Linked DNA regions of Homo sapiens: all the other regions are linked to region 2. The links are contacts of gene promoters, found by promoter capture Hi-C in blood cells and fetal thymus (Javierre and others, 2016). All regions are on one chromosome and are shown on one strand. The core of a region is centred on a gene start or on the middle of the fragment in contact, and the rest is flanking DNA. Distances in the headings are between cores, read along the strand shown. Region 1 overlaps FRRS1 (ferric chelate reductase 1). Region 2 holds the start of RNPC3 (RNA binding region (RNP1, RRM) containing 3). Region 3 has its middle 12 kb from the start of AGL. Region 4 overlaps SASS6 (SAS-6 centriolar assembly protein). Region 5 has its middle 130 kb from the start of PLPPR5-AS1. Region 6 overlaps SLC35A3 (solute carrier family 35 member A3). Region 7 overlaps SLC71A1 (solute carrier family 71 member 1).

Region 1 (2,869 bases), core at 168-2,667, 3.8 Mb before region 2:
AAAAACTCAATTTGTCTGAAGTGAAATTCATATTTTCCTCCAGACTAGTTTTTGAACCTCACTTTCCTAATCTGATGGTGGTCTGTCAACACATTTCTCATCAGCAGGATTTCAAACCCCGAACTCTCAGGATTGGATTCCAAACACTCTTTTGGTCCCCAACTTCCACACAAGCTCTGCAGATTCTACCTCCACCAATTCTGCACTCTACCTATCCCTCTTGCAACTCTCTTCTACTTTCCATTCTATTACATTTGTCTAGTGTTTTCCTTTCTGCCACCACCTCCAAGCATGAAGACTTCATTACCTTCACTCAGATTAATAAAACACTTTCAACTGGTCTCCCTGTTTCTGTATCTCCTCAACACAGGATTATTTTCCTAAGGTACAATTCTCATTATACCTCTCCTCTCCCCGCAAAACACTCAGCAGCTTCCCAAGAATTATTAGATTAAGAAGCAAAGGCACTCGACATTTAATATTTTATACTTTTCTACACAACCAAAATTTCAAGAATTTTTTTTCCCTATACTGTAATAACAATGTGCCATCTGCTATTCCAGGAATAAGCTTCTTTTTCTCCTGAAGTTTTGCCTTCTAAATGGGACCCCTATTTTTCCCCTAAATGGGACCCCCTATTTTTATATGGACAGGAATTTGGTTAAATTCCTGTCCATATAAAAATAAATGTTACACTGAAAAATAAGATACAATAATCTCTGTACACTATGCTCAAACTAGGTAGAACTGTGTATTCCCCATTATTTCATGTAATATGCAAAAGAGTAATAATATCTGATATAAGCAAGGATGTGAAGAAACGAGCACTCTCATACACAGGGACAATGGTAAACTGTCACATTTTTAGATGTTAACAATATCTTAGTAAATTAAAAATGTTTATCCTCTGACCTGGAAATTTCATTTCTAGAAATGTATCTTACAGTTCGGGCGCAGTGGCTGACACCTGTAATCCCAGCACTTTGGGAGGCCCAGGCGGGCAGATCACCTAAGGTTAGAAGTTCGAGACCAGCCTGACCAACATGGAGAAACCCCTTCTCTACTAAAAATACAAAAGTAGCCGGGCTTGGGGGTGCATGCCTGTAATCCCAGCTACTCGGGAGGCTGAGGCAGAAGAATCGCTTGAACCCTGGAGGCAGAGGTTGAGGTGAGCCGAGATGGCACCATTGCACTCCAGCCTGGGCAACAAGAGTGAAACTCTGTCTCAAAAAAAAAAAAAAAAGAATGAAAAGAAAAGAAATATATCTTACAGAAAAACCCATACAGTTAAGCAAGGATTATTTCCAGTAGCAAAAATGTTGGATAATTTAAGTGGTTACAAAAATAAACTACGCTATACCCAAACTATATAATACTTGCTAAACGTTAACAAAATGAAATAGAGTAAACAGATAACAAATACATCAGCTAATAATTATTGAGTGCATTCTAGGAGGTAGGCATTGTTTTAAGTACTTTGCAAGTATGAACTCATTTCACAAAAATCCCAAGACATGAATCTGCATGTTAAGAAGATACATGCTCATGCTCCACTGAGGAATCAAAACAAGAAAACTGCAAAATGATATGGAATGTACCAAAATATACATAACTTAAAAGGAAAAGAAAAAAACCTTTATACATGCTTCCAATTGTTCTCAACAGTGTTTACCCCTTAGGAAGGTATGTGTTTTCAGGATGGGAAGAGTGGGCTTCCTTTCTTTAATGCCCTTTATAATGTGCATTTTTTTTAAAGCATGTAGTGTTTTATAATTTCAAAAAACACTACAAAGTATGTACATGTAAGACTGTACAGAAACTGATTTGAAGGTGGTTAGATATTTTCTTTTTTCTATTTTCAAACATTCTATGTTACTTTTACTATTTTTGTTTGTTTTGATAAAGAAGACCTTCACCCCTCTTTCAAGATCCATTTAAAACGCCGTCAACTACTGTCCTATGATACAATGAAGTGTATGGACTTTGAAATATCACAGACCTAGGTTTGAATCTGTCCATTAATGTAATCCAGCAGGCACCACCATAGTGACCCTGGACAAATTATTTAACCTTACTGAGTCTTAGTTTTCTCACTTGTTAGAGACAATGCCACCAATATCAATGGCTTGCATGAGGATTAAATAAAATACTATCTCCAAAATATCTAGCACAATGACCACCATTAACAAAGTCTCCCATATAAAACTGTCTTCCTTTCTTGGATTCTTGCCTAATTCCACCAACCTGAAATAACTGTTCACTCCATAAGCTTTAGTTTTTCCTAATAAATTTTATCATGTTTTTCTGCCACATTTGGTGACTTGTCTTTTGGTAAACCTCTGGATATCAGTAAAGGTGTCCTACACATTGATCTCCATTCATTCTGACTAGCAGACAACCTTCAAAACAGTACTCATACAGTGTGATTGTTATGTGAATTTTGAGAAAATCCAATATTAAAAAAGCTGACAGGTGTGAAACAGAGAGTACACTTCACCAAAAAAATCAACATACTGGCTAACTAAATGACGAACTAAAACTCACTTCTCCAACCTAACAAAACCATCTCTTAAAAGGTCTTTGTTTTCAATAAGCTGATAGATCAAATTAAGCCCCCAACTTCAGTTCTATCCCAGTATAATACTCAAATCTTACCACTTTTTTAAAAATACAGAAGTGGCTGGGCGCGGTGGCTCACGCCTGTAATCCCAGCACTTTGGGAGGCCGAGGCAGGCAGATGACCTGACGCTGGGAGTTCGAAACCAGACTGACCAACATGGAGAAACCCCGTTTCTACTAAAAATACAAAATTAGCCGGGTGTGGTGGTGCCTGCCTGTAATCCCAGCTACTCAGGAGGCTGAGGCAGGA
Region 2 (2,846 bases), core at 205-2,704:
GGTCAATCTTCTCACATTCAGTAAATGGCATCATCATCTACAGATGGATAATATCTAGCTTAAGCCAAAAATCCAGAATTTATCCTTGCTTACTATTCTTCATCTGCAAGTTCCTATCAACTACTTCTAAAACGTATCTCAATTCCAGTTCCTTCTCTACATGTCCACTTTCACCAAACTATTATGGTAGTGTTTTTCTCCAGACTTCTACAGTAGTCCAACTGGTCTTTCTGCTTCTGTTTTTTGCATTGCAACCGGAGAAATTTTCATACCTAAACTTTGATTCTCTCCCCTCAACACACACCTACTTAAAGAATTTGTCAGTTTCTAAATGTTCCTCAAATAAAAAGGGCTCCTAACAAATCTACAGCGTCTACGTGGTCTGGCTCTACCTATCTGATATTTTGGTGGGTGTGTGGGGAAGGTTCTTCTCATGTTTGTCTTCTAGTTTTCATTAATATCTGTCTCTCTCCTTTTCCCCAACCAATGCGGGATGACAGCAGATTGCTGGTATACTGCTTACTGCTGTATCTCTAACATTTATTTAAGTGGCAAAAAGAACTGTAAGAGGAACTCTGGTTCTCCAGACTGTAGCAGCTACATCTAGCATAAAACCTCTCTTTAGAATCCTCAAGGCCCTCTCTGTATGGGGTGAGGGGTACATTCCTGACCCTCCGGGGATGATCCCTGCCTCACTCCATTCAGAATCTAGGCAGAACAGTGGATTAGAATGTAGACCCCCAGTCAGAACACCAAGGGTCAAAACTTAGTTCTTCCACTTTCTAGCTGTGTGATTTAACCTCTTTGTACATCAGTGTCCTCAGCTGTAAAATAGGGAGAAAAGTACCTACACCTACACACACACACACATACACACACACACACACACACACCCCTACACACACACACATACACACACATGCAATAATTTATTTATTAGGTTACCTCTCCCTAGAGGCTGCCATTTCTGCGAAATGAACCCTGGCAGGGGCCTATCCGTCTGCTAAATGCCTACTGATTCAAGAAAAAAGTCTGAACTCTCAACGTTTTGCCCCTTAAACTGAGTTCTCCTCCCTACAATGGTGTCTAATGAGTTGACAGAATAACTGGCTAGCTTTATATTTTACCATCTAAATACTGTAAGAACATACCCGGTATTTCCACACCCAAGTTCTCCTCCTTGCTATTCAGGCCAATTCACTTTCCCAAGGCCAGGGATTAAGAGCCGCACGGTCAGCTCCAGATAGCGCTCGCCGCCGTGCGCCCCGCCCCGCCGTGCGCCCCGCCCCGCCGTGCGCCCCGCCCCGCCGTGCGCCCCGCCCCGCCGTGCGCCCCGCCCCGCCGTGCGCCCCGCCCCGCCGTGCGCCCCGCCCCGCCGTGCGCCCCGCCCCGCCGTGCGCCCCGCCCCGCCGTGCGCCCCGCCCCGCCCTGTGACGGTCCCAGCCCGCACATGCGCAGTCGTGAGTCCTCTTGTCCTTGAGCGTCAACCTTCTTTCCCTGAAGTGGCTGGGGTTCCTGTTTCCTTCTTTGATTGACAACTTGTGTTAACCCTCGCACATCTCTGGGCCAATTTTTGCTTGTAAGTCTTTCCGGAGACCCCTGGAATTTAAATCATTAGCACCGCGCCCTTCCCCGAAGAGTCTTCGAAGGGTTGCCGCTTTTCGGTGGCGCAGTTCTCGCGAGAAGGTGACTTTCTTTCTCGGTATTTCCTGGTTTCCAGAATCCTTAGCGCGAGGCGGAAAAAATATTTCTCCCAGCTTGTGTTGATGCCGCGATTTTGACTGAGACTTCTTCCCACGATTTCTGTTTTTGCTTCTCCAAGGAAAATGGCAGCTCCCGAGCAGCCGCTTGCGATATCAAGGGGATGCACGAGCTCCTCCTCGCTTTCCCCGCCTCGGGGCGACCGAACCCTTCTGGTCAGGCACCTGCCGGCTGAGCTTACTGCTGAGGAGAAAGAGGACTTGCTGAAGTACTTCGGGGCTCAGTCTGTGCGGGTCCTGTCAGATAAGGGGCGACTGGTAAGGGCGCGCCCCTCCGGAGTCTCCCGGGAAGGCATTTGGGAAGTGACCGGGGAGGGGGAGCGCTGACAAGAGTAAAATGGAAACGAGTGGGGAAGATGGACTTGTGTGATGAGAGCTCCCCCATCCTACCTCTTTTTTATCAAAATATCTGCTCTGCGAAGTGGAGTTTTAATCGGCTCGAGTCTGGATTAGTCATAGCACTGCAGAAAAGGGCAAGTGAGAACGACAAAGCAGAAGAATGGAAATTAGCTTAGTTATATTGAGTTTTCGGATCCATCCTGAGAGCCTCACAACTTTTTTGAATTTGGGGTTATTTCTCCTGGACTCAAGAGTATTCTTACAAATGTGCATCAAGGGATTTTTTAAAGTCCTACTTCATTTATAAGCCAATGTTAAATCGTTCATTAAAATAGAGGAGAAGCTACATTGGTGACTTGCGTAAATTAAATGCAGAATTTCAACTAGAAAAAGAGGCTTTTCATAAAAATTTCCCGATGACATCTTTTAGGGAACAATTTTTTAGGGCTGTTAAGAGTACCTGTGTAGGAATTTACACAATTACTTTGTTTTGCTTTATATCCAAAGATATTTTAGATTTCTCTTCATTAAAATAGGAATAGCGATGGTGCAAGACTCAGTGGTTTTAAAGTTTCCCTAGGTGATTTTAATGTTAATGTGCAGCCCAAGTTGAGAGTTACTGAATTAGAAGAAAGACCAATTTTGATCAGTTTAAATGTCACTTATGCCTGCAAATTAAAAAAAAAAAATTATATATGGCTCAATTTAAGTACATCAGGTCATCGTGTATCAGATTAGACAAAATTA
Region 3 (2,893 bases), core at 114-2,613, 3.7 Mb before region 2:
AGCCGGGCATGGTGGTGCATGCCTGTAATCCCAGCTACTCGGGAGGCTGAGGCAGGAGAATTGCTTGAACCTGGGAGGCGGAAGTTGCGGTGAGCCAAGATCGCGCCATTGCACTCCAGCCTGGGCAACAAGAGCGAAACTCCGTCTCAAAAAAAAAAAAAAGAAGAAGAAGTGGATAATACATGAGTCTATATAGCTTTGGAAAAAGAAAGCAATCAATTATGACATGGAGTACATGAGAGAGTACAGTCCTTTCTTAATACCAAACTCTAAACCTTTCAATTCAACAATAGTTTGTCAAATGTCATAACTGCTCACTTTTGCACTATTTGTAGAACTTGAATGTTTTCATATTTATACTTCACAGTAAATTAACTATATGGAAGTTACTGATTTTGATGTATTCTCTCTTGGGGAAAGGACAGGGAAGAAAGGGCAAGAGACACACTGTTCTTGGATTCCTTCTCAAGATGTTATTGAGTGTTTTCTATACAACAGGCAATGTTTTAGGTGCTGGGGATTCCGGAGAAAAGATATTTTCTCCTCTCAATAAGCTCACCCTCTAGTAGGACAGACATTTAATTGTTAGGTCAGGATACCTGATGCATTCTTAGGAATTTTGCCACTCTGAGAGCTTTGTTTTGACAGGTTTGTTTTCCACCCTTCTGAGCTGGGCAAAGGACACACAAAATCAGCTGTCAAATCAATTCCTATTCAAAACTGAGGAAAAAAAAAAAACTAACCAAAGTTAAAGCTTTTGAAAAGACAGTAAATGCATCATGGTTAGCACTATGCTAACCATAAATTTACCATGCTGCTATAAGATATAGCAAAATCAAGCCCTTTCCTGTGATACTTCAAAAAGGAAAAGAAAATATGTATTCTTTAAAAAATAAAGAGGCCAGGCACTGTAGCTCACACCTGTATTCCCAGCACTTTGGGAGGCCGAGGCAGGCGGATCATTTGAGGTCAGGAGTTCAAGACCAACCTGGCCAACATGGTGAAACCCTGTCTCTACTAAAAATACAAAAATTAGCCAGGTGTGGTGGCACACACCTGTAGTCCCAGCTACTTAGGAGGCTGAGGCAGGAGAATCACTTGAACCCGGGAGGCAGAGGTCGCAGTGAGCCAAGATCACGCCACTGCACTCCAGCCTGGGCAACAGAGTGAGAACTCTGTCTCAAAAAAAAAAAAAAAAAATTAAACATAAAAAATAAAGAATCATCTCAATTGATGCAGAAAAAGCTTTTGACAAAATTCAACATCATTTCATGATACAAACACTCAGCAAACTAGAAGAAAACTACCTCAACCTAATAAAAGCCATATGTAAAAAAATCTACAGCAAACATCATACTCAACAGTGAAAGACTGAAAACTTTTCTTCTAAGGTCAGGAACAAAGCAAGGATAACCACTTCCACCACTTCTATTCAACATATTGAAAGTCCTAGACAGAACAATTGATCAAGACAAATAAATGAAAGCTTCATCCAAATTGAAAAGGAACAAGTAAAATTATCTCTGTTCACAGATGTGATATGTAGGAAACTAAGATACCACACACACACACACACACACACACACACACACACACAGTTAGAATAAATGAATTCAGCAAAGCAGCAGGATACAAAGTCAATGCACAGAAATCAATTGCATTTTGATACACTAACAATGAGTAATCTGAAAGGAAATTAAGAAAACAATTCTATTTAAAATAGCATTTAAAAACTTAGGAATTCACAAACCAAAAGGAGACCTGTACACTGAAAACTATAAAACATTGCTAAAAGAAATTAAGAAAGACATAAATAAATGGAAAACCATCCCATGGTTCATGGATTAGAAGATTAATATTGTCAAAATGTCAGTACTACCCAAAGTGATCTACAGATTGACTTTTTTTTTACAGAAATAGAAAAATTAGTTTTAATATTCATGTGGAATCTTAAGGGACCCTGAACAGCTAAAACAATCTTGAAAAAGAAGAACAACATTGGAGGACTCACATTTCCTGATTTTAAAACTTACTACAAAACTTTGGTAATTGAAACAGTGTGGTACTGGCATAAAGACAGATATATAGATAGACAAATGAAATAGAATAGAGAGCCCAGAAATAAACCCCAGTATATATAGTCAAATGTTTTCCAACAACAGTACTAAGACCATTCAGTGGGGAAAGGACAGTCTTTTCAACAAATAGTGCTGGGAAAACTGAATAGCCACATGCAAAATAATGAAAATGGACTGTTAACCTAACCCCATATACAAAAATTAATTCAAAATGAATCATAGACCTAACAAAAGAGCTAAAACTATATAATTCTTAGAAGAAAATATAGGGCAAAACTTCATGATATTGAATTTGGCAATGAATATGACACCAAAGACACAGGCAAAAAGCAAATAGATTAATTGGATTTCATTAAAATGTAAAACTTTTGTGCTTCAAAGGACACTATCAATAGCATGAAAAGACAGCCTACAGAATGGGGGAAAATATTTTAAAATCATACATCTGATAAGGGATTAATATCTAGAATATGTAATGAACTAATCTAAAACTCAACAACAACAACAAAAATTCAAAAGTAGGCAGAGGACTTAAATAGACATGTCTCCAAAAGATTTACAAATGGCCAGTAAGCACATAAAAAAATGTTCAACATCACTACCCATTAGGGAAATGAAAATCAAAAACACATTGAGATACCATCTCACATCTACCAGGATGGCTACTATAAAAAAAACAAAAAATAGAAAATAAGTGTTGGTAAGGATGTGGAGAAACTGAAATCTTTGTGCACTGTTGATGGGAAGATAAAATGTTACAGCCACTGTTGAACACATTATGGTGGTTACTCAAAAAGTTAAAAATAGAATTACTA
Region 4 (2,748 bases), core at 225-2,724, 3.4 Mb before region 2:
CAAGGGTTAGAATGAAAAGCTGGAGCTCACTCAAAATAATGCTGTGTATTACTGTGTCTCCTCTCCACTCCACTACTATTTTGTAGTTCATGACCATTGTGTACGGCATTTCCAGACTTTGTTTTTTGGTCCTTAACAGTAAACAGAATTGTCTCCCTAAGCCTTTCAACCAGATTAAAAGAAAAAAGATAAATCAATCATCTGGCCCGTTCCTCACTGCAGAAAATCCCTCACATACTTCATAATCTCCTTGATGAAAGTTTGACCTTGAAGATCAAGAATGTAACCCAAGCCAGGCACAGAGGCTCATGCCTGTAATCCCACCACTTGGGAGGCCGAGGCAGGTGGATCACTTGAGGTCAGGAGTTAGAGATCAGCCTGACCAACATGGTGAAACCCCGTCTCTACTAAAAATACAAAAATTAGCCAGGTGTGGTGCTGCACACCTGTAATCTCAGCTACTCGGGAGGCTGAGGCATGAGAATCGCTTGAACCTGGGAGGTGGAGGTTGCAGTGAGCTAAGATCATGCCACTGCACTCTAGCCTTGGTGACAGAGTGAGACTCTGTCACAAAAATAAATGAATAAATGAATGAATGAATAAACAGTTTAGTTTGAAAGACATTACAATTTACTATCTACTGGTGTTTCACCACAAAATGTAAGCACCATAGTGTCAGGGCATTTGTCTTGTTCACTGCTGTCATCTCCTGCAACTAAAACTATGCCTGGCCACAGCAGATAACAGACATTCATTAAATACTTGTTCAATGAATGAATCTTTGGCTATCATTGTATCCAAAAATAAAAGAGAAAAAACACGTAGTTTTGTGTATCTTGCTTTAAAATTATCAAGTATTTGTTCTATTTGTCAGAACAGCACAATCTTGTTAAATATTCTCACATATTCTTTCAGCATTATTTTGTTTCTTGCCAAATTTCTCATGTTATTTTACATTCCCACAGTTAAACATCCTTGAATGTATTCAATCTTGACAGTAACATTTTAAGACATCAGGAAGATCACAGGTTCAACGTCAAAAATAAAAGCGTCATTTTTAAAAACTGTAATTCAAAAGTACATGTTTTAATCAACATAGCTGCTAGCACAAAACTACCTAGATCAATGATCACCAAAGTAGGTGGTATTTGGTGCTTTAAAGTGGGTCTTTGAGTCGGGGAGGACAAAGTAGGCAGTAATTAGGACCATTCACTGAGGTCTGAGAAGAAAATCTTACAACTTTCATTTACATCCATTTTTAGTCTGATTCTTTAATTTCTATTTTTGAATATATTTTATTATTAATAATATAACATTTACAGAGCACTTATCATGAACCAGGTACTATTCTAAGCAAATGCATTAATTCACTTAACTCAATAATCCAGTAAGGTAGAGAAAATTATCACTCCATTTTATAAGTGGGAAAACTGAAGTGTAAGAGTTGAATGTTGTTTGTTTTTCAGTGGCTTGATCAACTTCAGGTTGATAGAGGCAGGTTTTAAATCCTAACATCAGATTCCGCCTTCTTAACCAATAATTATACGGCATATAGTATTTCAGTAGTATATGCATAAATTCACAAATAAATACACATTAATGTATTTGAGATGAGAGCGCAAATTGTTCTGTTTTAGGGTTTTTTTTTTTCCCTGTTAGGGATACATAATTAAAAGAATATGGAGATCACCGATACAGGAAACACTGAAAGTCTTGCTCCTGTATTTAAGAACATAATTATTATAATGATTCCTCTGATTCCACAAGACCTATAAGAATGATAGTATTATTTTATAAGCCATCTTTAGTCCTACCAAGTAGGCAACTGTCTCTAGTAGTACTTGTCCTCATTTTGGACATTATATATATATTCCTGGAAAGTTGTTTAAATAAAAAACAACTGTGAATTCACTTATAATTCTAAAGAAAAAAAATGATCCCAAGATACAACGACACTTGAGTATACTGAAACTGATAATAAAACAATAGACATTCCTTCGAATGCACATATCTAATTCTCCTTAATAAGCAATGCAAGAAGAGCCAGTTATATGCATCTAAGTACTCTTTACATAACAGTATTCCAGGCATAAAAACTCAGGCTTAATTTTCATTTAACTGAGAATTCTCCATAGCTACTGGCAATAATAAGGCTATGGCTAAAAAGAGCACATGCCTAAGCAACACAGCCAACTTATTTTTAGAGTAGCCCAGACCTAATTTGATAGAGTTTGTAATACCAGTTTCAAAGTCCTCAATTTTATCTTTTATACAATATTTTTTCATAAATGTTTATTTGTCTCATTATTTAAGAAAAAATAAACCTGGATCTGAAGTTAGCAATGAAAATAAAAGCAGTGACTGGTCTGGGTGGATTAAACTATTGTGAAAACAAAATTATAATACATAAAAAATACATAAATCTAAGATAATAATAAAAATGAGGAAAAAGAAGTAGGTAGAAGAAAGCCTTAACAAATATATCAAGGGTTGGGGGGATTGCTAGTCATATCTTATCTGAGATAATGCTGTCAGAACTAAATTTTAGAATTTGATTTAAGCCTGCCCTACCAGACCTTTAAATTCTAGCAATGGACTCCAAATCATAGCTCAGACTCCAACAGTATGAAGTCAGAAATCCTAGCCAGGCCTGAGAGCGTAGGAGACACAAGTAGAAGAATGAATAAAAACGGAAAGGCTGGCCGGGCGTGGTGGCTCAGGCCTGCAATCCCAGCACCTTGGGAGGCC
Region 5 (2,843 bases), core at 169-2,668, 4.7 Mb before region 2:
ATTTCCCAGCTAAAAATATCAGATATGGAATTTGAACTCAATTCTTTTTGTTTTCCAAATCCTACCTCTTAGTCCTTATGCTTTATTACTAAAGAGTCATGAAATTATTTATTTATATGAAAATATTTTAATAAATGCCTCCTATTTTGTAGTTTCAGCACTAGAGTAGTGGTTCTATATAAATGAACACATGGTCCCCATCTACTTTAAGATCCCAAGCAAATATAAGGAAAAATAAAAAATCTAAAAAGATATGTTGAATGCTATCATAAAAGTAAATAGCACAGGTAAGGAAAACAATACTATCTGGAATTGTTGAGGAAATGGTCAAATAGAATTGCTGTTTGGTCAGTGTTCAAAAGATACAATGGGTATGGATAGCTGAAAAGAATAGTGTAAACATGGTAAAGCCAGAGAGGTGTGAAAGCAAGTGGTCTCTGCAGAATTGGGACTAAATATTAGATTGTTTGAGAAAGTGGCAAAAAGCACCATTTTAAATATTTTGTTCTTATAATATCACATGCTTTGATACATAGATGTTATCCTACAGATAAGTAACTATGAATATTATCTGATTATGATAGAAACATAGATTTTAAATAGTTATTTGGGCATATGTTTGAATGACTGGCAAAATGAGCATGAGACTTGTGGTCAGGAAACAATTGAAAGCTTATTGTAATAGAAGAAGAGAAATTAAACTGACAGGAATTAATCAGGGGAAAAGGAAGGGCTGAATTTTAATGAATAATCAATAGTTCAGGTATGGAATATATATCATCCTCTTCAAGTACAATGAATGGGCCAAATTGAACATAGTTTATTACATTACTAGCTATGAAAAACCCTGAAGGGAAAAAGTACCCAACACTTCACATATTAGGTAATTGGGAATCATTATGATTTTATAACATGGCTGGGCCATAGCATTGGCTCAAATGCCAACAAGCTGAAAAGAAGGCAAGAAGGTCTGTAATAAGGAACCAACACAGAAAACTCATATATGTATATAAAATCAGTGTATGACCCAGACGAAAGGCAAGGTCATTCTAATATTCTACAGTATTGCCAATAGCCAGGACTGTCTTAGGCATTTACATGAGCTGGGTGAAACTGCTGTAATCACTATTAAACGAGGGTGCTGCATGATATGTTGCTTGCCCCACACAGTCTGGTAGACTAATGTGTCCTAACACAGCTAGTCAAAGGTCTTAGAGAGCCAAAGTCTGCATATGTCTTGAGAAAAGTAACCAGAGTATCATTATTTTAGAATTGAAAAACAACTGATAGCATGTTGCACTGGATACATAGACCTAACTTGTGTATCCTCAAGTGGTTTATAAAAATCAATCCAACTGAAGACTATAATTTTCTCATACAATCCAGATTTCTGGATTCTCTTGAAATATTAGATGATCCGGTGGTGGAGGGTCTTAATTCTGGTATCACAACAATTGACAGGAGCTACACATAGCAACCTCCACCACTCTGTGTGGGTACATACCCCTCATTCATACAATGAAAAACATTTTCACAAAAAGACCAAGGTATCACTCATTATTGTTATCTTCCTGGTCTTGTAAGCATTTGCTTTCACAGTCTCTGATATAAGGTGCAAGTGAAATCTCAAGTGCCAGAGTAATTCATAGCTGGATCCAATAGAGAAGAAACAACAGGACTCCTAAAGGATGAGTAAAGAAGTTGGAATTGCTTATTTTGAAAGATATAATAAGAAGTTTTGAGAAATATCATCAGCATGAAGGCTGACACCTGGAAAAATCTCAACTGCATTAAATTAAGTAGGCTTTCTGATGAGGTCCTACCTAAGGGAAAATTACCAAGTGGCCAAATTTTACTTAGTGTCTAAAAAGCCGCCTTTCCCTTTGCCCCTTTCTTTCTCTTCAACATTAAGTTATACCATCATATTTTCTGGTCTTTATGTAAAATGTGCATATATTTGTATATAATATATGTATTATACATATACATTGATAAAGTATCTTCTAAAATTTTCTCAGTAGCTAAGAAGAATGGGATTCTATAATTATCTCTGGCTTTAATTATGGGGTACTGTCAAAGGCTTGGGTTTTAGATTCATTTATTCTTTCAACAAATATTTATTTAGTTCCTAAGGATCTAGTCATGGTCAAGGTTCTTTTTTTCTTGAAGCTTAAATTCTAGTAAGGGAACATATGTAATAAATAATAATAATACAAGTAAATATTTCTGCATATTGATAAGAGTTATGAAGAATAAATGAGTTGTTGGGTTGGAGAGTGACCAATGGCTGTAAACAGTGGCCACTTTCTGTGTAGCAAATTTCCCAGTGGGGATATTGTGGTTGGTTTTAAAAATTACTTAAAACGGAGTGCCACCCAGCCACCTAGCTAGGACTTTACTGTTTGACTATTTCATATTCACTATATGTAAGGGTCATCCCAGCAGTTATAATCTGCCATGTGTTGCTATACAAAGATTTACAGGATTCAGCATATTTAACTACCTAATTGGAAGCACTCCTTGCATCTAATGAGCATTTTTTTCTTGACACTTTTTTCCCCACTTATCAGATAAGCCAGCATTTTCTTAAATGTCTAAGGTGTGCTAAGGCCGAAAGGTTATTTTTAAAGCAATGAGTCTATAAATTACTAAGTTTTGTGGTGGAGGAAATAGAAGAAAAAATATATTTTGGAAGGGAATGAAGTATGGTAATCACTCCAAGCAGGCTTAATTATGGAGAAACTAAGAGGTGGGCATGTGGGAGGAGACTTGAAACTTAATTTAGTCTCGTCCATAATTTTGTCTGAGTTCAGCTGTCAATACACTTACGATATCCTGGCTTT
Region 6 (2,840 bases), core at 287-2,786, 3.5 Mb before region 2:
TTTAGCAATTAAGAATATGGTATTTGGGAAGAAAAGTTTGAAATGCAACAAATGGATATTTCAACACAGTAGTATTATATTATCAGTTCTTTAGTAAGTGATTTTAGAGATGTTGTAGGCTACTTTTACGGTGGAATATATAGTATAGAGATGCAAAACTTAAATGTTTACATCAATTTATATTGAATGTCACATAATTTCATGGAAGGAAAGGTAGCTTGATATTTAGATTCTAAGATATAATCTGAAAGGAAACTAATTATGTTCTCTACACTTACTGTAATACTGATTATTCTTACATATCAAATTATTGAACTTTAAAAATTTCATTGTATAGTCATTAAACTGAGTTGGGTTTTTTCTTAAAGGGTTTAGCATCACTCATTTGATTTACACATTCACATTATAATATTTAATTATCATGGGTGTATGCTTTACATAAAAAAGGTTTATAAAAGTTATTTATGCTATATTGAAAGTCATCTTAAGAATCTCCAGGTTATTTAAAGTAGTTATAGGAGCAGAGAACAAGCACCTTTATCAAAATCTGGTCCTATGTGCCTTGCTTTACCAAATACCTGATTTTTCTGGAGGGTGTTCCTGTAATTCACAACTGTAGACACATGGGCAAAATTAGGATTTTTAAGAATAAATACATTTCTATTTTTTTGGTTGTTTCAACATTAGCTCTTCAAATTCATTAACAAAATTAAAATAGGTATATTACAAAAGCATAAACATTTGTGAACAGTACTTAAATAAATTGTGATACTATTGCTCCATCATTGAACTTTTTGAAACTTTAACAATTGTATAAAACTGTCAGTTTGTTGTTTCATTTGTAATTACAAAATAATTTAAAAACTTTTTAAAATAATTTGGATCCTGACTTTGTCTATATCTGTATTTCATTTGTTTAGAAAGATTCTTTTGGGTTTGATAATGTAATTTGTATATTTAAATTTTTTATGGACATAATTCAAAGGAATGTATAAATTGGTCTTTTGTTAAATGGCTTTTTAATTGATAAACTTCTCTTGTCATTTTTTGGTATCCAGCTATTACCTATTTAATAGATTTATTGAAATAGATTATTTTCATAAAGAACTCTATACAAATCTTTTTCTATATTTCCTTATTTTCCTATTTACCTGTGTCTATGACCTAACCTATGAATTAGTCTTCTCTCTTTATATATCAAAAATGAATTACTGATCTTTTTCTCTGGCTCTGTAGTATCTCTATCACTGTCACATGTGATCTTTCTTCCTTTTCTCTAGCCCATATTCTAGCATGAAATACTGGGTTGGCCAGGTGCAGTGGCTCATTCCTGTAATCCCAACACTTTAGGAAGCCAAGGCAGAAGAATCGCTTGAGCCCATGAATTTGAGGCCAGCCTGGGCAACATAGCCTTGTTTCTACAAAAAATCTTAAAAATAAAATTAGCCAATATGTGGGCATGCACCTGTGGGGCCAGCTACTCAGGAGGCTGAGGCAGAAGGATTGCTTGAGCCCAGCAATTTGATGCTGCAGTAAACCATGATGACACTACTGGACTCTAGCCTGAGTGACAGTGAGACTCTGTCTCAAAAAACAAACAAAACAAAAACTGAAACAACAAAAAAAGACTGGGTTTATTTAAGCTAGTTAGAATTTATCTTTCTATATGTTAATAACAGCCTAACAGATTTTTTGTTTTAAATATCTCTAGGCTAGCCTCAAGGTTAAGTAATTATAGAAGTTTGGTATGTATTTTCTTCATAATTTGAATATAATTGCTTCCATTGTGACTGTCAATTGAATGCATGGAGATCAATTGTGATAATATACAGGATTTTAGTCCTATCTCTACTGCTGAAGTAACCTTACACAAAATACTTTGTAAAAAAATCACTAAAGTGCCAGCATTTTTAAAGTGTATATTTTTCTTTGGCAACCTCTCATGAAAAGCACTAACTAAAAATATTTAATAATCTTTTTTGTATTACAGTGCTTCTTTTGTTGGAAATATATCACAATCCTCAAGTTCCACTGCTATGCAAAAGTATCTTAGAATCTGAATCTTATAGATAATACTACCTTTTTTTTTTTTTTTTTTTTTTTTTTGAGATGGTGTCTCGCTCTGTCACCTAGGCTGCAGTGGTGTGACCTCACTGCAACCTCTGCCTCCCAGGTTCAAGCAATTCTCCTGCCTCAGCCTCCCTAGTAACTGGGATTACAGGCCATGCCACCACGCCCAACTAATTTTTGTATTTTTAGTAGAGACAGGGTTTCACCATGTTGGCCAGGCTGGTCTCAAACTCCTGACCTCAGGTGATCCGCCTGCCTCGGCCTCCCAAAGTGCTGGGTTTACAGGCGTGAGCCGCTGCGCCCGGCCAATACTGCCTTTCAAAAGAGACTGATAGTGACCAGCATTAGTAATCATACTGGTGGGGTTTTTTGGGGTGTTTTTCTGTTTTGTTTTTTGTTTTTTGTTTTTGAGACAAGGTCTTCCTCCCGTTGCCTAGGCTGGAGTGCGGTGACACAATCTTGGCTCACTGCAGCCTTGATAGAGCAAGCTCAAGTGATCCTCCCAGGAGCCTCGGCCCCCAAGCAGCTGGGAATACAGGTGCGCGCCACCATGCCCAGCTGATTTTTGTATTTTTTTGTAGAGATGGGGTTTTGCCATGTTGCCCGGATTGGTCTCAAACTCCTGAGCTTCAGTGATCTGCCTGCCTTGGCCTCCCAAAGTGTTGGGATTACAGGCGTGAGCGACCACACCCAGCCCATATTGGTCTTTCTTACTGTTCTTAAAAAGAGAATTCCTTTAAGGCAGGACCGATTACATATACACTCTAGAA
Region 7 (2,782 bases), core at 4-2,503, 3.5 Mb before region 2:
GGCACACACCACCATGCCTGGCTAACTTTTTTGTATTTTTAGTAGAGACGAGTTTTCTCTATGTTGGCCAGGCTGGACTCAAACTACTGACCTTAGGTGATCCACCCGCCTTGGCCTCCCAAGATGCTGGGATTACAGGCATGCCTAGGCGGCTATAAGTATTTTGCTTTATTTCTGGGTTATCTGTTGTGTTCCATTGGTCTTCATGCCTATTTTTATACCAGTACCATGCGGTTTTGGTAACTGTAGCCTTTTGTATAATTTAAAGTCGGGTAATGTGATGCCTCCAGATTTGTTTTTTGCTTAGTCTTGCTTTGGCTATGTGGGCTCTTTTTTGGTTCCATATGAATTTTAGGATTGTTTTTTCTTGTTCTGTGAAGTATGATGCTGGTATTTTGATGGGAATTGCATTGAATCTATAGATTGTTTTGGTCAGTATAGTCATTTTCACAATGTTGATTCTTCCCTTCCATGAACATGGGATGTGTTTCCCTTTGTGTCATTTATGATTTCTTTTAACAGTGTTTTGTACTTTTCCTTGTAAAGATCTTTCACTTCCTTGGTTAAGTGTATTCCTAGGTGTTTTGTTTTTTTTGCAGCTATTGTAAAAGGGATTGAGTTCTTGATTTGATTCTCAGCTTTGTCGTTGCTGGAATATAGCAGTGCTATTGATTTGTGTCATTGATTTTGTATCCTGAGACTTTACTGAATCGTTTATCAGATCTCGGAGCTTTTTGGATGCGTCATTAGGGTTTTCTAGGTATACAGTCATATCATTGGCAAACAGTGGCAGTTTGATTTCCTCTTTTCCAATTTGCATGCTCGTTATTCCTTTCTCTTGTCTGATTACTCTGGTTAGGACTTCTAAATTTTTTAATTACTATGGGTACAAAGTAGATACAGATATTTATCAGGTACATCTGATATTTTGATACAAGCATATGTTGATACAGGTATACAGTGTATAATAAATCAGGGATACTGGGGTATCCATTACCTCAAACTTTTATCATTTCTTTGTGTTAGGAACATGCCAATTCCACTTTTATTTTATTTTATTTTTTATTTTTTGAGACAGAGTCTCGCTCTGTCGCCCAGGCGACATACATAGTACAGTAGTGTACTCCAGCCTGGGTGACGGGGAGACTCTGTCTCAAAATAAATAAATAAATAAATAAATCTGTTCAGACTAATGTCCTAGAGTGTATTCCCAATGTTTTCTTCTAGTCGTTTGTGGTTTCAGGTTTTAGATTTAAGTCTTTAATCCATTTTGATTTGATTGTTGTACATGGCAAGAGGTAGGGGTATAATTTTATTCTTCTGTATATGGATATCCACTTTTCCTAGCACCATTTAGGAGACTATCCTTTTCCCAATGTATACTTCGGTGCCGTTGTCAAAAATGAGTTGACTGTAAATGCATGGATTTATTTCTGGGTTCTCTATTGTGCTCTATTGTCTATGTATCTGTTTTTATACCAGTATTATGCTGTTTTGGTTACTATCACTTTGTAGTATAATTTGAAGTGAAGTAATGTGATTCCTCCAAGCCTCGTTTTTTTTTTTTTTTTTTTTTTTTTTTTTTTTGAGACAGAGTCTAGCTCTGTCGCCTAGGCTGGAGTGCAGTGGCGCAATCTTGGCTCACTGCAACCTCTGCCTCCCTGGTTCAAGTGATTCTCCTGCCTCAGTTTCCCGAGGAACTGGGATTACAGGTCCCACCACCACGCCTGGCTAATTTTTGTATTTTTAGTAGAGACGGGGTTTCACTTTGATGGCCAGGCTGGTCTTGAACTCCTGACCTCAGGTGATCCGCCCGCCTTGGCCTCCCAAAGTGCTGGGATTACAGGCGTGAGTCACTGTGCCCAGCCTCCAGCCTTGTTCTTTTTGCTCAGGATTGCTTTGGCTGTTCTGGCTCTTGTGGTTCCATATAAGTTTTAGGATTTAAAAGAAAAAATTCTGTGAGGAATGTCATTTGTAGTTTGATAGTAACTGCATTGAATCTGTAGATTGCTTTTGGTAGTATTAAAATTTTAACAGTATTGATTCTTCCAATTTATGAACATGAAATATCTTCCCATTTGTGTGTGTGTCCTCTTCAATTCGTGTCATCAATGTTTTGTAGTCTGTAGACATCTTTCACTTCTTTAAGTTTATTCTTAGGTATTACATCTGTAGCTATTGTAAGTGGGATTATTTTCTTGGTTTCTTTTTCAGATATTTGCTGTTGGCATATAGAAATGGTACTGATTTTTGTATCCTGCAACTTCAGTGAATTTGCTTCCATTCTGATAGTTTTTTGGTGGAGTATTTAGGGTTCTCTCTATATAAGGTCATGTCATCTGTAAAGAGGGACAGTTTTGACTTCCTGTTTTCTAATTTGCATGCCTTTTATTTCTTACTCATGCTTAATTGCTCTAGTTGGTACTTTCCAGTACTTTGTTGAATAAGAGTGGCGAAAGTGGGCATCTTTGTCTTGTTCCAGATCTTTGAGGAAAGGCTTTCAGGTTTTCCCTGTTCAGCATGATAGCTCTGTGTCTGTCATATATGGCTTTTATCATATTGAGGTATGTTCCTTCTATACCATTTTTGAGAGTTTTTATGAAGCAGTGTTGAATTTTAGTAAATGCTTTTTCATCATTAATTGAAATGATCATTTTATTTTCCTTCATTCTTTTGAAATGATGTATCACCTTGATAGATTTATGTATGTTGGACTATCCTTTCATACCTGGATGAATCCCACTTGAACATGATGAATGATTTTTTTGTTTTTAATTTTTTT

Evidence for each region. The method cuts DNA at HindIII sites, captures the fragments that hold promoters and counts their contacts. A CHiCAGO score of 5 or more calls a contact.
Region 1: a contact is called between a fragment that was not itself captured here and the fragment with the promoter of RNPC3 in region 2, in 1 of 17 cell types (total CD4 T cells). The highest score is 6.0, in total CD4 T cells.
Region 3: a fragment that was not itself captured here is called in contact with the fragment with the promoter of RNPC3 in region 2 in 1 of 17 cell types (naive B cells); the score reaches 5.4 in naive B cells.
Region 4: a contact is called between a fragment that was not itself captured here and the fragment with the promoter of RNPC3 in region 2, in 1 of 17 cell types (total CD4 T cells). The highest score is 5.8, in total CD4 T cells.
Region 5: a contact is called between a fragment that was not itself captured here and the fragment with the promoter of RNPC3 in region 2, in 1 of 17 cell types (total CD4 T cells). The highest score is 8.6, in total CD4 T cells.
Region 6: a contact is called between a fragment that was not itself captured here and the fragment with the promoter of RNPC3 in region 2, in 1 of 17 cell types (fetal thymus). The highest score is 6.5, in fetal thymus.
Region 7: a fragment that was not itself captured here is called in contact with the fragment with the promoter of RNPC3 in region 2 in 3 of 17 cell types (total CD4 T cells, non-activated CD4 T cells and fetal thymus); the score reaches 8.1 in total CD4 T cells.

The regions. Positions count from the first base shown.
Region 1 is chr1:99,762,642-99,765,510 of GRCh38, forward strand. The region is part of intron 1 of FRRS1 (ferric chelate reductase 1); the gene reads right to left. Among named protein-coding and RNA genes, the nearest start is that of FRRS1, 2.6 kb to the right of the region's middle. The HindIII fragment of the contact is 1,699 bases long and covers 569-2,267 here.
Region 2 is chr1:103,524,245-103,527,090 of GRCh38, forward strand. RNPC3 (RNA binding region (RNP1, RRM) containing 3) reads left to right here and starts at 1,455. Exons shown (of 15, transcript NM_017619.4): 1 at 1,455-2,018. The coding sequence starts at 1,827. It overlaps RNPC3-DT (RNPC3 divergent transcript), which reads right to left and starts at 1,264. Exons shown (of 4, transcript NR_168321.1): 1 at 1,152-1,264. RefSeq lists a silencer at 1,247-1,346 and an enhancer at 1,667-1,906. The HindIII fragment of the contact is 7,657 bases long and covers 1-2,846 here.
Region 3 is chr1:99,837,387-99,840,279 of GRCh38, forward strand. No RefSeq gene overlaps it. Among named protein-coding and RNA genes, the nearest start is that of AGL, 12 kb to the right of the region's middle. The HindIII fragment of the contact is 241 bases long and covers 1,244-1,484 here.
Region 4 is chr1:100,099,695-100,102,442 of GRCh38, forward strand. The region is part of intron 14 of SASS6 (SAS-6 centriolar assembly protein); the gene reads right to left. Among named protein-coding and RNA genes, the nearest start is that of SASS6, 32 kb to the right of the region's middle. The HindIII fragment of the contact is 4,262 bases long and covers 1-2,748 here.
Region 5 is chr1:98,868,194-98,871,036 of GRCh38, forward strand. No RefSeq gene overlaps it. Among named protein-coding and RNA genes, the nearest start is that of PLPPR5-AS1, 130 kb to the right of the region's middle. The HindIII fragment of the contact is 1,497 bases long and covers 671-2,167 here.
Region 6 is chr1:100,025,862-100,028,701 of GRCh38, forward strand. It overlaps SLC35A3 (solute carrier family 35 member A3), which reads left to right. Exons shown (of 8, transcript NM_012243.3): 8 at 1-2,840. The region is part of intron 1 of LOC124904230 (a long non-coding RNA gene); the gene reads right to left. Among named protein-coding and RNA genes, the nearest start is that of SLC71A1, 11 kb to the right of the region's middle. The HindIII fragment of the contact is 3,323 bases long and covers 1-2,840 here.
Region 7 is chr1:100,044,658-100,047,439 of GRCh38, forward strand. The region is part of intron 1 of SLC71A1 (solute carrier family 71 member 1); the gene reads left to right. Among named protein-coding and RNA genes, the nearest start is that of SLC71A1, 8.0 kb to the left of the region's middle. RefSeq lists enhancers at 2,324-2,403, 2,434-2,483. The HindIII fragment of the contact is 4,393 bases long and covers 1-2,782 here.